Regions from separate parts of the Homo sapiens genome. Here all the other regions are linked to region 4. Evidence: promoter capture Hi-C in 16 types of primary human blood cells and fetal thymus (Javierre and others, 2016). All regions are on one chromosome and are shown on one strand. Each heading gives the region's core, a stretch centred on a gene start or on the middle of the fragment in contact. The rest is flanking DNA. Distances are from core to core; before and after follow the strand shown. Region 1 overlaps LOC105377343 (a long non-coding RNA gene). Region 2 overlaps TSPAN5 (tetraspanin 5). Region 3 overlaps EIF4E (eukaryotic translation initiation factor 4E). Region 4 holds the start of TSPAN5 (tetraspanin 5).

Region 1 (2,762 bases), core at 90-2,589, 170 kb before region 4:
CCTGTCTCTACTAAAAATTCAAAACTTAGCTGGGAGGGGTGGTAAAATTCAAAAATTAGCTGCTCCTATAATCCCAGTTATTTGGGAGGCTGAGGCAGGAGAATCGCTTGAGCACAGGAGGCGGAGGTTGCAGTGAGTCAAGATCTCCCCACGGCACTCCAGCCTGGGCAACAGAATGAGACTCTGGAGAGTTATTTGAATGTTAGCTTCATAAAAGGTCAGCTACATTGCTCCCTTTTTCATCAGTTTCACGTAGATTAGGGAAAGCTTCACCACACAACTCCTCTGGTCCAGGGACCAGCCACTGTTTCAATCAGGTGTGAAGAGCCTCCTTGCCTGGAAGGCCGAGGTCCTGGGAGACAAATGTCCCGCCCTAGGCAATAGATCTCCTGAGGCCACCTCTAAGCTGCAGTGTTTGGGAGAAAAGTTGGGTTATGTTTGTTGATTGGTTGGTTCTGTTTTCAATATTGCTTGCTATTTCTTTTATGTTGTTTCTTTCTCTTAACACCCTTTTCTTTCTCATTTTTCCTTCATTGTTACACAATCTATTCTCCTGAATCCATTACCTTAATTGGAAAACTCAGAATAAAAATTACACAACACTTTTTTAAATCCAGCAGAGCCAGTCAGGGAGAAGCTGATTTCTCCATGGGAGGAAGTCAGGGGACGAGGGATAGAACAAGGTAGAATGGTTGTCCTAAATGCCCTTTTTGAATTTGGCACATTACATTCTTTCACCATTGCCTCAGCCTTTGCATGCTCAGCAAGGAAGCACTTTGAGTCAATTATTCTTTGAAATGTTTCTTTCAGTGCCACTGTGAGTTGGTGACATTTTCCTTGGCTGCCTCTCATGACCTATTTATAGTACCTGTTTTAAAAATATGCCTGGTTTGACACTTCAGAGTCTATCAGAAGTATGGGAACATGAATAAAAAAGGGTATGAAAATTAGCAAAAAATAAACAAACCTATACACACACACACACACACACACACACACACACACACACACACACGGGTTTTATGACTACTCCTAGATTATTTGTTTGTGTGTATATATATATATATAATAGATTATTTGTGTGTGTGTGTGTATATATATATGTATATATATATATGTAAAATCTGGGAGTAGTCATAAAAGTCTAGATTTCTCTGGTCTTCAATAGCAGAGTCAAGGTGAGAGCTACTGAGCTATATCTCAGTTTCTCCATTTGTCAATGTCCAAGAGGCAAAGAAGAAGTCAGTCTGAAGAGGCACAAAATGGGGACCCACACAAGTTCATTTTGCCCCTTCTGCGTGAGCAAACACACCTATATGACCAACTCCAGCCCTGAAGGAGAAGCGACTCTCAGAGTATGGAGAAGACATTCTTTAACATTATCAATGTTGGTCAACATGAGCTCTCAACCCAGAGCACCCTTGCCCACATGTTATGAGTCCCCCGTGCTGAGAAGGCATTTTACTGATCATATTGCCTTCTCTTCTAGATTCTGGGTTTTTCACAGATCCAGCCTGTAGCTACTTTCTTCAACCTCATTTATGCTCTCTTTCTTTTTGTTTTGAAACAGAGTCTCACTTTGTCACCCAGGCTAGAGTGCAGTGGCGTAATCATACCTCATTGCAGCCTCAAACTCCTCAGCCCAAGCAATCTTCCTGCCTCAGCCTCCTGAGTAGTTGGGACTACAGGTGCGTGCCACCATGCCCAGCTGATTTTAAAATATTTTGTGGAGACAAGATCTCCTATGTTGTCCACGCTGGTTTCTAACTCCTGTCTTCAAGTGATCCTCCCACCTTGGCTTCCCAAAGTGTTGGGATTACAGGTATGAGCCATTGCACCTGGCTCCCCCATCTGTGGTCTCTTGATGGGCAGACAATACATTTCATGCAGAAGGAGCAAAAACATGGCTGGATCAACTATACTTTCTGGGTAGGTTACCTGTGTTTTGGAAACATTTTCCAATTATATCAAGTTAGGTAAAATTCCATTCATTTCATCATGAAGCAAATGATACATGAATTCAATATTTTTCCTTTATTCTTTCCTTACAGCTCTTAATTATCTGCACATAATCATTTGGAAATATTTTTATTTATATTTCAATATAAATAGAGTCCTCTGGTTCAAAATTTCAAAAATGGAAAAGGCAACCCAGTAAATGGCCTCCTTCTGTCCACGCCCCCAGTCATCTAGTGCCTGTTGCCAGAGGCCTTCAGAGTTTCCAGTTTCTTGTCTATTCTCTTGGGGAAGGGGCTGGGGAAGGACTTCTTTTGTTCATCCACAAGGTTTACCTGAAAAGTGTTTTTTCCCTAACTCTCCTGGCCTCGGCCCCCATCCCTTTCTCCTCTCCTCAGAAAATAATGAGTTATATGATTGATGAGGGTGGCAGAAAAATTGGTGCACGAAGCTTAGTTATTTCGTGCCCTTCCTTTTTGGAGCAAGGTGACTCCAGCAAACAGACTTTTTGCTCTCCAATCATGTTTAAGCATGGACAAGAGTGGCCCTCACATGGGGAGGGTTGTGGGGGCCCAGCCCAAGTGAATGAGACTGCCTAGTTCTTGGGTTTAGTACTGGGGAATCTACTGTTGGCGCATACCTGAGTTGTGTTCTCTGACATGAGCTTTATCAATAATAAAAGTAATATTTTGAATTCCCATTGCCATTCTTTGTTTTCTATCAACCACAATGTATATAGACACAGAGATATAGACACTTGTAATTTTCCCCTCCTTTCCTTTAAAAAATTAAGTGATGGTGTACTA
Region 2 (2,700 bases), core at 136-2,635, 140 kb after region 4:
CAATCTTTTTTCCCCATAGTATATGCTATTTCGGTTCTGATACAAATCTGCTAGATTAACTGAATAATGCACAGATGATGTGATAGTTTCTTTTTGTTATCTGAAAAGTGACCTTATATTGTGCTTAGGTAAGAGACTTTTTAATTACACTTTTAATGGCAATAATAGTGTGTTTATTGAGTGCCTACTATACATAAAACACATACCTTAACTCATTGATCCTCATATCAATGCTATGTGAATGCTAGGCAATAGTCTGTATTTATGGGAGAGAAAATTGAGAGTGTCAGCTTGCCCAGGCCACATCCATTAAATGCTGGGGCCCAGATTTGAACCAAGGTTTGTCATCAGAGGTCAGGCTCATTTGGCTGTGTCACTATTTATAATTTGTATGGTCCCTTTATACTTTCTGTTTTAACTTCAGGAAATTAGCAGTCCTCTTAATTTTTAAAGATAAAAGCTGGGCACGGTGGCTTATGCCTGTAATCCCAGCACTTTGGGAGGCCGAGGCAGGTGGATCACTTGAGGCCAAGAGTTCATGTTGACCAGCCTGGCCAACATGGCGAAACCTTGTCTCTACTAAAAAATACAAAAATTAGCCAGGTGTGGTGGTGCACACCTGTAATCCCAGCTATTCAAGAGGCTGAGGCAAAAGAATCACTTGAACCCGGGAGGCAGAGGTTGCAGTGAGCCGAGCACGCGCCTCTGCACTCCAGCCTGGGCAACAGACGGAGACTCTGTCTCAAAAAAAAACCATAATTTTTATTTCCATGTTGATTTTTTAATATTCATCTGAATTAGTAAATCATTTTAGAAGCTTGCTGATCTCTAGCACATGCTTTTATATCTTCAACTCACTTTAATGTCATGCCACTTTTATTCAGAGAACAAAAAGTTATGGATGTCTTTAAACCAGAGGAAATAAGGGACGCTTATTCACATCCCTCATGCTGTTGTTCATCAGGAGACTCTTCCAAACAATTCTAACAGAAAAGGAAAATTCCAGAGTGCACACACATGGATAGTTTCCAAGGCAGTGCTTGTTGAGAACCCAGCCTTCTCTCCTGAAGCTGTGAATAGTTTGTCTTATATGTAAATTAATTTCCAAGAGTCTGTGCATTAAAGTCTTATATAAAAGAACATATAAAAGAATGATTTGTCAAAACCCATTTTCCTTGTAAAAAATACCTAACTAAGGAGAGAGGATGATATTCGGTGGCTTCTGTGGGCTCTGTGTTAAGCCAGTACTTTACTTCTTAGTATGCAGTGCTGATGTTCTTGGTTGAAAGGAATCCATTCCATTTCTTTTTATAGTATCATGAAAAGTTGGAAAGAGGAAAAACTGAGCTGAACATACAGAATAAATAACTAAATGGTGTCGTCAGGCTGCCCTTTTGTTTTCAGACATCCCCCCTCCTTCCTCCTTTGTGAGTCACTGAGCCAGTAAGATGGATCAAAGATGCCTCAGTGTATAGAACATTTTATGTGGAGGTTATTTGTCATCCACAACAAAGGACTAATTGCCTCTGTGCCTTCTTTCACATGATAATCAATGGATTGGGATCTCCTGATTATGCCCCATGCATCCTGCATTCATCTCTCAAGATGTTTTAGGTTTTGATTGAATTTATAAAGCATCAGAAAGATGACGTCAGTTCAGTGCAACTATTAAGGGGATTTTAAACATGGGTATGGAAATATGAAAACAGAGCTTGAAGTGAAGGCACCTGTCATCATTCTTTTTGTAAATGGTTGATTTGATCGGAGGTATAACTTCTATGATAGCTATTAAGAAGGGTCCTGGCATTTTTAAGATGGAGCGTTTATTTCAAAAGGCCCACCAGGAGAAAATTCACTTCCTGTTTCAGCGTGGACTTGAGGTTCTCAGAGATGACTTCTTGGATGACTTTGTTGCTAATGTTATCAATCAGGTTTCATTTTAAAGAAGCTTTCTGAATTCTAACAAGAAGTCAGTGTACTCTGAGTATAGTTTTCTGTAGTGGATTTGCCTAATGTGGGGGTTGGGCACATAGGCCACGGGAGCGTGTAAGTGTAGGAAACACCATTCAGCTCATTCTGTACAATGTCTGAAGCTTTGAAGTTACATTCTCCTGGCATTTCAATTATTTCAAAGGCAAGATGTTTACTAAAATGTACCTGAAACATGGAGTTATTTCTTAGGAACTTTTAATATTTACAGTTAAATTAGAACACTTTAAAATGAAAGAATGATATATTGACTGTAGCACAGACATCTGTTTAATAACAGTCACTTTTCCTCTCTTTAAATGTATAAATGTCCTGTGTTTCTTAGAAAAGAAAGATTTCATCAGTGAAACAAACAAAAAAAACAGAACCCACAAAAACAAAATAAAATTCAAAAACACACACAGATATATAGGCATAGAGAGAGCATTTGTGATAAGTGTTTTAAAAATAGCTATTAATATCTCAGCAGCCTCCTCAGCTCTGATGGTGCTGACATCCCACAGGGCAAGCTGAAGCAAGCCAGGGGGCTGGAGAACAATCTAAGACACCAAACTCTTCTGTGGAACAATAACACTGAGTGTCAAGGACTGTGAAGGGTCTGAGATTTCACCCTGCATGCCAGCAAACAAGTTATCCTGCCACAGTGTCACAAATCCTGGCAGAAGGCATCACACTGCTGGGGCAGACACATAGGACTTTATTAATCACAGC
Region 3 (2,700 bases), core at 80-2,579, 240 kb before region 4:
TGACCCATGACCAGCAGACAGTTTTATGTGTGAGTCTTGAGTTCAAAAGGAGCTATGTGAGAGATTAGTTTGAAAAGTATTGGTCATAATGGAAGCCACATTAGTAAATAAGTTCCCTTAAGGAGAAGTGAACTTGACTCAGGACAAAGACCGGGGATACTAGCATCATATAGGAGGCTTTTGTTGAAGAAGAATGCCTATGAAGGATGGACATACAAAGACAGTGGTGGTCGCCCAACGCGGTGGCTCACGCCTGTAAACCCAGCACTTCAGGAGGCGGAGGCGGAGGCGGAGGCGGGCGGATCACCTGAGGTCAGGAGTTTGAGACCAACCTGGCCAACATGGTGAAACCCCGTCTCTACTAAAAAATACAAAAATTAGCTGGGTATGGTGGCAGACGCCTGTAATCCCAGCTGCTCGGGAGGCTGAGGTGAGATAATTGCTTGAACCCAGGAGGTGCAGGTTGCAGTGAACTGAGATCGCGCCATTGCCTGCCAGCCTGGGCAACAAGAGCGAAACTCCATCTCAAAAAAAAAAAAAAGAGACAGTGGTGGTCATGGAAACCAAGAAGGTGGTTTATTCTAAGATAGGGTGGTTTACAGCACATGTGCTAAAAAGGTCAAATGAAGCAAGATGTCAAAATATCCATTGGATTGAACACTTTTAAAAAAGTCCGTGCTGACTTGGGAAAAAGTTTTTTAGTAAGGTTCCATAGAGTAGTTCCATAAAACATGGAAAAAGAGATTAGGGCAGTTTGAAGAGTGAATAGGAGATATACAGATGTATAGAGTAAGAACAGGTGACTTGAAGTTGGACTGAGAATGAGAAACGAGAGCCAGGGAATGTGGAGTTTGAAGGTTGGTTGGTTTGTAAGTGAGAGACTAGAAAAGGGGACAGATTAAAATTAGTTAAGTTTTCATAGTTAATAGTGTAACAGGAAATTGAGTATTAGTTCATTATATGGCTTTTCCCAACTCTTCCCACTCCTTTCCAGTAGGTTTGTTTTTATTTATTTTCTGGGGTATATGAGAATTAACTTGAGTTCACTGAATGCTGATGGTGGGAAGAAAATGGCAGTTCAGAAACATTGTAACAATCTAGAGGAAAGTAAATTGGAATTAACTTCTGAGGTTCTTGAAGTATTTCAGTTCATTTCTTGTCTTTTTTTGTTTTTATTTACTTTTTTTAGGGCAGACCATTCACTCTCTACTTAAAAGAGTCCACAAGTCTATTTATAATTGTTTCATTTATTAAAATTTTTTTATGATCTCAATTTTTTTAAATGTTTCCTTTATTCATCATGGAAGACCTACTGAAATAAATAGTTCAAATATGCTGTATGCAGTTTTCTCATAGGAGACCCTTTGGTTCAGTATATCCTCCAGTGAGGAACAAATCAGTTTTTTAGACAATGGAGATTCTCAGCTAGTGGGACATCAGAGGTCAAACAGTCTATAAAGGATAAAATCCTTCCTCAGGGAAGCAATGTACCACATGTATTAGGTTGAACAATTCGTTAGAGGCAGTCTTATATAGTTTAACCTAATAGTAGCACCAAAACCCACATTTTTTTTTCATTTTTTTCAGTGATATGAAACAAACTGTATATCTTCTAGCTGTCTGTGAACCTAGTTCTTGGTGTCACTTTTATTGTGGGGAGAAGTAAACAAGGCATATATCCCTCACAGCTTGAATGGAGTCTAAGAAGGGATTCTTAAGTGTCCTCATCAGTTTAAAAAAAAAAAAAAAGTTTAAATCTTAAAATGAAGTCTCTGGGGACTTCAGTTTCTCTATAAATTCTACTTTTTGTGTAAAATAGCAAGTATCATTTGGAAAAATACTATGTTTTATGGCTCCAATTTTGGCAGTTTTCTCATTATTTACTTCTTGCATTTTACTTTCTTCACTCCCCAGAGTAGTCAATGTTAAATTTGGTTTGTATTCCAGAAGTATTAAATGCACATATGTATACTTTTTAATACATACGTCTATACAGTTGACTTTTCTGTTTGTATGTGCATATTTTACCTCATTGTTTTAAACCACCGTCTTGCATTATATTGATATACCACCATATATTTTATTAGGTTTACATTAATGGCTGTATAGATTTTTCTTTTTACACACAGTGCTGTAATTTACATCCTTACATAATTGTGCACTTGTGTGAATATATAGGGTAAAATTTCAGATCTCCTAGAACAAAGATTACCCTTTAACAACCTTTGCGCAGATACTGCCACATTATTCTGTTTTATTGGCTTAGACTTAACAGTTTGAGAGTTCCTGGTTTCTATATCCTTGCTAACTCATGTGATTAGTCTTTTAAGTTGTTGCCAATCAGATTGGTCCCAGTCTGATTTGGGAAAACAATTTCAGTATTTTCAATTTGCATTTTAAAATTGAAGTTTCAAAATATTTTCATATTGATGATTTGTGGTTTTTATCTGAGGACAGATTATTCAGTTCTTCTATTTTTTTTCTTTTGGATTATCTTTTTTTTCCCCTACTTTCAAGCTAACAAGTTATGGAATATCTTTTCAAGTTTATTTCCAAGCATTTTATATTAGAGTGCTAACTCACCCAAGGCAGGGAAGTTGGAGGAGTATTAAGTCAGAAAGAAACAGGTTATCCATATCATTTGTCTTCTAACATTGTCTGTGGAATTGTATGGTTTTTTTTTTTTTAGAGGTCTTTAAT
Region 4 (2,794 bases), core at 37-2,536:
GTAGGAAACCTTATAACTAGAGGCTCTCAAACTCAAGTATTTAAGTATCATCTTTTAGATTTCTGTGTCCAGGATCGGGTTGCACTGGGTGGTGCTGGAAAAATTTTTTGATCTCACCTCCTTCTAGCCTTTTGAATCCTTAAAAATATTCCCATAGACATTTATACACAGTCCTGGGCGGTTCTTCCTTCTCCTTCCGTGAAATACTGGTACCTGCTTTGCCAACACCTATGAAAGTGCTCCAGGAGGAGGGCGGATAAGCAACTAATGAGCACACCTGCTCAGGTAGGGTTCTAAAACAATTTCCAGCCACCTGTTCTATTCTTCCCCAGAGTTCAAAAGCTTAATGGTTCGTGATCCAAAAACCCAATTCAGATTCCCCAGAAGACCTCCCTGGAATCCGTTGTGGATTCCTTCCTAGAGTTAGGAGGCAAGCAGGTTTCTTAGGCACTATTCTGTCGGGGTAGGGGGGAGCGTGCGCTGTCCGGGTTTGTGTGGTTGCAATAGACCCTAGGGCGAGGATCGCATCCCGGGCCAGGACTCCCTTGAGCCATCTCTTTTTCCTCGTCCCCATTTCTAGGATAAAACCCATTTCTCCGGTAGGTGGGGAGGTTGGGTTAGAGTCACACAGGGATTCAGGAAGCTTTCCTTTTCAACGTCCCATCCCTTCATCCTTTCCTCCCACTTCCCGTGGCTCTTTTCTCCACCTTCCCCAACTACCCCCTTTTCCATTCAGCGAAGTCCACGACGACTTTCCTTCCCTGTCCAGTGGCATCGCATCTTCTCTAGCCACATAAGCCTGTTGTGGAGGAGGGGGCGCCAGTGTGGCTACCCTGGAAGGGGTGTCGGGGGTGGCTCGCAGGTCCTCACTCACCCAGCCCTCTCCCCGAGGAGCGACCCTCTCGCCCGCGTCCCTCCAGAGCTGCGCCGCTCATCAATCCCGGTCACTCTGCCAGCCTGCTCCCCGGGCGCCCTTCCTTCTCCCTCTCGCCTGCGGTCCTCCACCCTCCCACCCCCTACCTACCCCGCAGCGACGTTCGGGGTCAGCGGCGCTTGGGGTTGGCCCGAGAAGGGGCGGGGATAAAGCGAGCGGTGGAAGGAGGCGGCTACGTGGTGCCACCGCCGCCCGGGAGCGCCCGACCCCGTGCGCGCGCGCGCCTAGCCAAGGCTTGGGCGGCGGGCGGAGCTGCGGGCGGCGCGGGCGGAGGAGCAGCCGGCCGGGCGGGCGGAGCGAGAGGCGGGCGGAGCGAGGGGTGGGAGGGCGCGCGCGAACGGGCGGGCGAGCAAGCGAGCGGCGTCTCCACCAGCATCTGCCGCGGCCGCCTTTGCCCGAAGCCCGGGGACGAACCGACGGACCGACCGCCTGGCGCACGGACGCGGGCGCTCGCTTTGTGTTCGGGGCTAGCGTCGGCGAGGCTTGAGCTTGCAGCGCGCGGCTTCCCTGCTTTCTCGCGGCCACCCCGGCTCCGGCGGCCTCGGCGCGCGAGGGGCTGGAGGTGCGGGAGCCGCTCTCCGCCGGTCGGTCCCCGCGCGGCTGAGCCCAGGCCGCCAGCGCCGCGGCCCCGTGCGGTGTCCCTGAGCTCCTGCTCCCCGCCGGGCTGCTCCGAGCAACGGTGCTTCGGAGCTCCAAACTCGGGCTGCCGGGGCAAGTGTCTTCATGAACCCAGAGGATGTCCGGGAAGCACTACAAGGGTCCTGAAGTCAGTTGTTGCATCAAATACTTCATATTTGGCTTCAATGTCATATTTTGGGTAAGTTGGAGCGCTCCTGGGATTCCAACTATTGTGGCCGATCGATTCGCGACGATTTCCCCCACGTTGTTCGTTGCCTTTACTTTTCGCAGCCCCGCAGGCGCTTGCCGGAGCAGCATAGAGGCATTCGCCTTCCGCCTTTCCAGCTTGCGCGTTGGAGAGATAAACATTTAATCCTTTCGAGGAATGGGAAGAGGTGAAAAGAGAAATCGAGGCGGAAAGGGGGCACCGAGGCCTTCTGGTGGCTTTTTGAGGAACGAATAGCAGGGATGCAGATAAAAGAAAGGGTTCGGCAGTTTGAGAAATGAGCAACCACACGAATTGGATTTGCTCTCGGTGGGATATAGATGTTGGGCAGAGCGTGGTGTCATAATAGGGAAGGCTAATCGGGCACGGCCGACCCTGAGGTCCACCTTCTAACAACGATCTGATTGGACGAGGGCTTGGCTCCGTGTTGCCGCGGCTGGTCTGTGCCATGCTCAGCGTGTATCTTCTTGCACCATCTCGGGCTTTGTGTAGGATGCAGATGCCGTGGTATATGGTCCTGTAATTGCACGTAAATAACGTTTCCTGCACGCTCTCCTCTTCAGCTGGAAAGCGCTCCCTGTGCGTAATGGACTGGTCAGTGGGGGTGCGGGGTAGAGGGATTTATTTGTATGTATATATCATCGTCAGGATAATAAGTCACCGTCAACATATATTTCAGTGTGTTCCTGCCCCACGTCCTCATTTTTAAAGGAGTGACACAGAGCGGGCCGTTTGGGGGAACCTTTGTAGAAATGCAAAGGAGAAGGTGTGCGAGGCATGTTTTATTGGGGAACCGAGAGAGCAAATGCTTTAACACAAGATTCAAATGATGCTCTGCTTGGGACTGCAATGTGTTGGGAACCTATTGTAATTAGGCTGGGACGCCTACTCTTTTTGTTTGTTTGTTTGTTTTGATTCTTTTCCTTGATCTGGCAAACGTGTTCAGCAGCCAGACAAAGAGTTCTCCAGGACAAGGGGAAAACGTTGGTTCAAAGACCATGTTATTTTTCTTCCCC

What was found. Contacts are between HindIII fragments. The CHiCAGO score rates a contact against its expected background, and 5 or more counts as called.
Region 1: a fragment that was not itself captured here is called in contact with the fragment with the promoter of TSPAN5 in region 4 in 1 of 17 cell types (activated CD4 T cells); the score reaches 5.4 in activated CD4 T cells.
Region 2: a contact is called between a fragment that was not itself captured here and the fragment with the promoter of TSPAN5 in region 4, in 2 of 17 cell types (endothelial precursors and activated CD4 T cells). The highest score is 9.6, in endothelial precursors.
Region 3: a fragment that was not itself captured here is called in contact with the fragment with the promoter of TSPAN5 in region 4 in 2 of 17 cell types (erythroblasts and activated CD4 T cells); the score reaches 5.8 in erythroblasts.

The regions. Positions count from the first base shown.
Region 1 is chr4:98,831,626-98,834,387 of GRCh38, reverse strand. The region is part of intron 2 of LOC105377343 (a long non-coding RNA gene); the gene reads left to right. Among named protein-coding and RNA genes, the nearest start is that of EIF4E, 96 kb to the left of the region's middle. The HindIII fragment of the contact is 2,140 bases long and covers 270-2,409 here.
Region 2 is chr4:98,521,497-98,524,196 of GRCh38, reverse strand. All of the region lies in intron 1 of TSPAN5 (tetraspanin 5), which reads left to right. Among named protein-coding and RNA genes, the nearest start is that of TSPAN5, 140 kb to the left of the region's middle. The HindIII fragment of the contact is 1,131 bases long and covers 820-1,950 here.
Region 3 is chr4:98,899,042-98,901,741 of GRCh38, reverse strand. The region is part of intron 2 of EIF4E (eukaryotic translation initiation factor 4E); the gene reads left to right. Among named protein-coding and RNA genes, the nearest start is that of EIF4E, 29 kb to the left of the region's middle. The HindIII fragment of the contact is 2,911 bases long and covers 1-2,700 here.
Region 4 is chr4:98,657,103-98,659,896 of GRCh38, reverse strand. It overlaps TSPAN5 (tetraspanin 5), which reads left to right and starts at 1,286. Exons shown (of 8, transcript NM_005723.4): 1 at 1,286-1,751. The coding sequence starts at 1,671. TSPAN5-DT (TSPAN5 divergent transcript) reads right to left here and starts at 995. Exons shown (of 3, transcript NR_148380.1): 1 at 875-995. LOC112267901 (a long non-coding RNA gene) reads right to left here and starts at 1,174. Exons shown (of 3, transcript XR_939016.3): 1 at 1,025-1,174. RefSeq lists silencers at 1,129-1,308, 1,562-1,721. The HindIII fragment of the contact is 4,978 bases long and covers 646-2,794 here.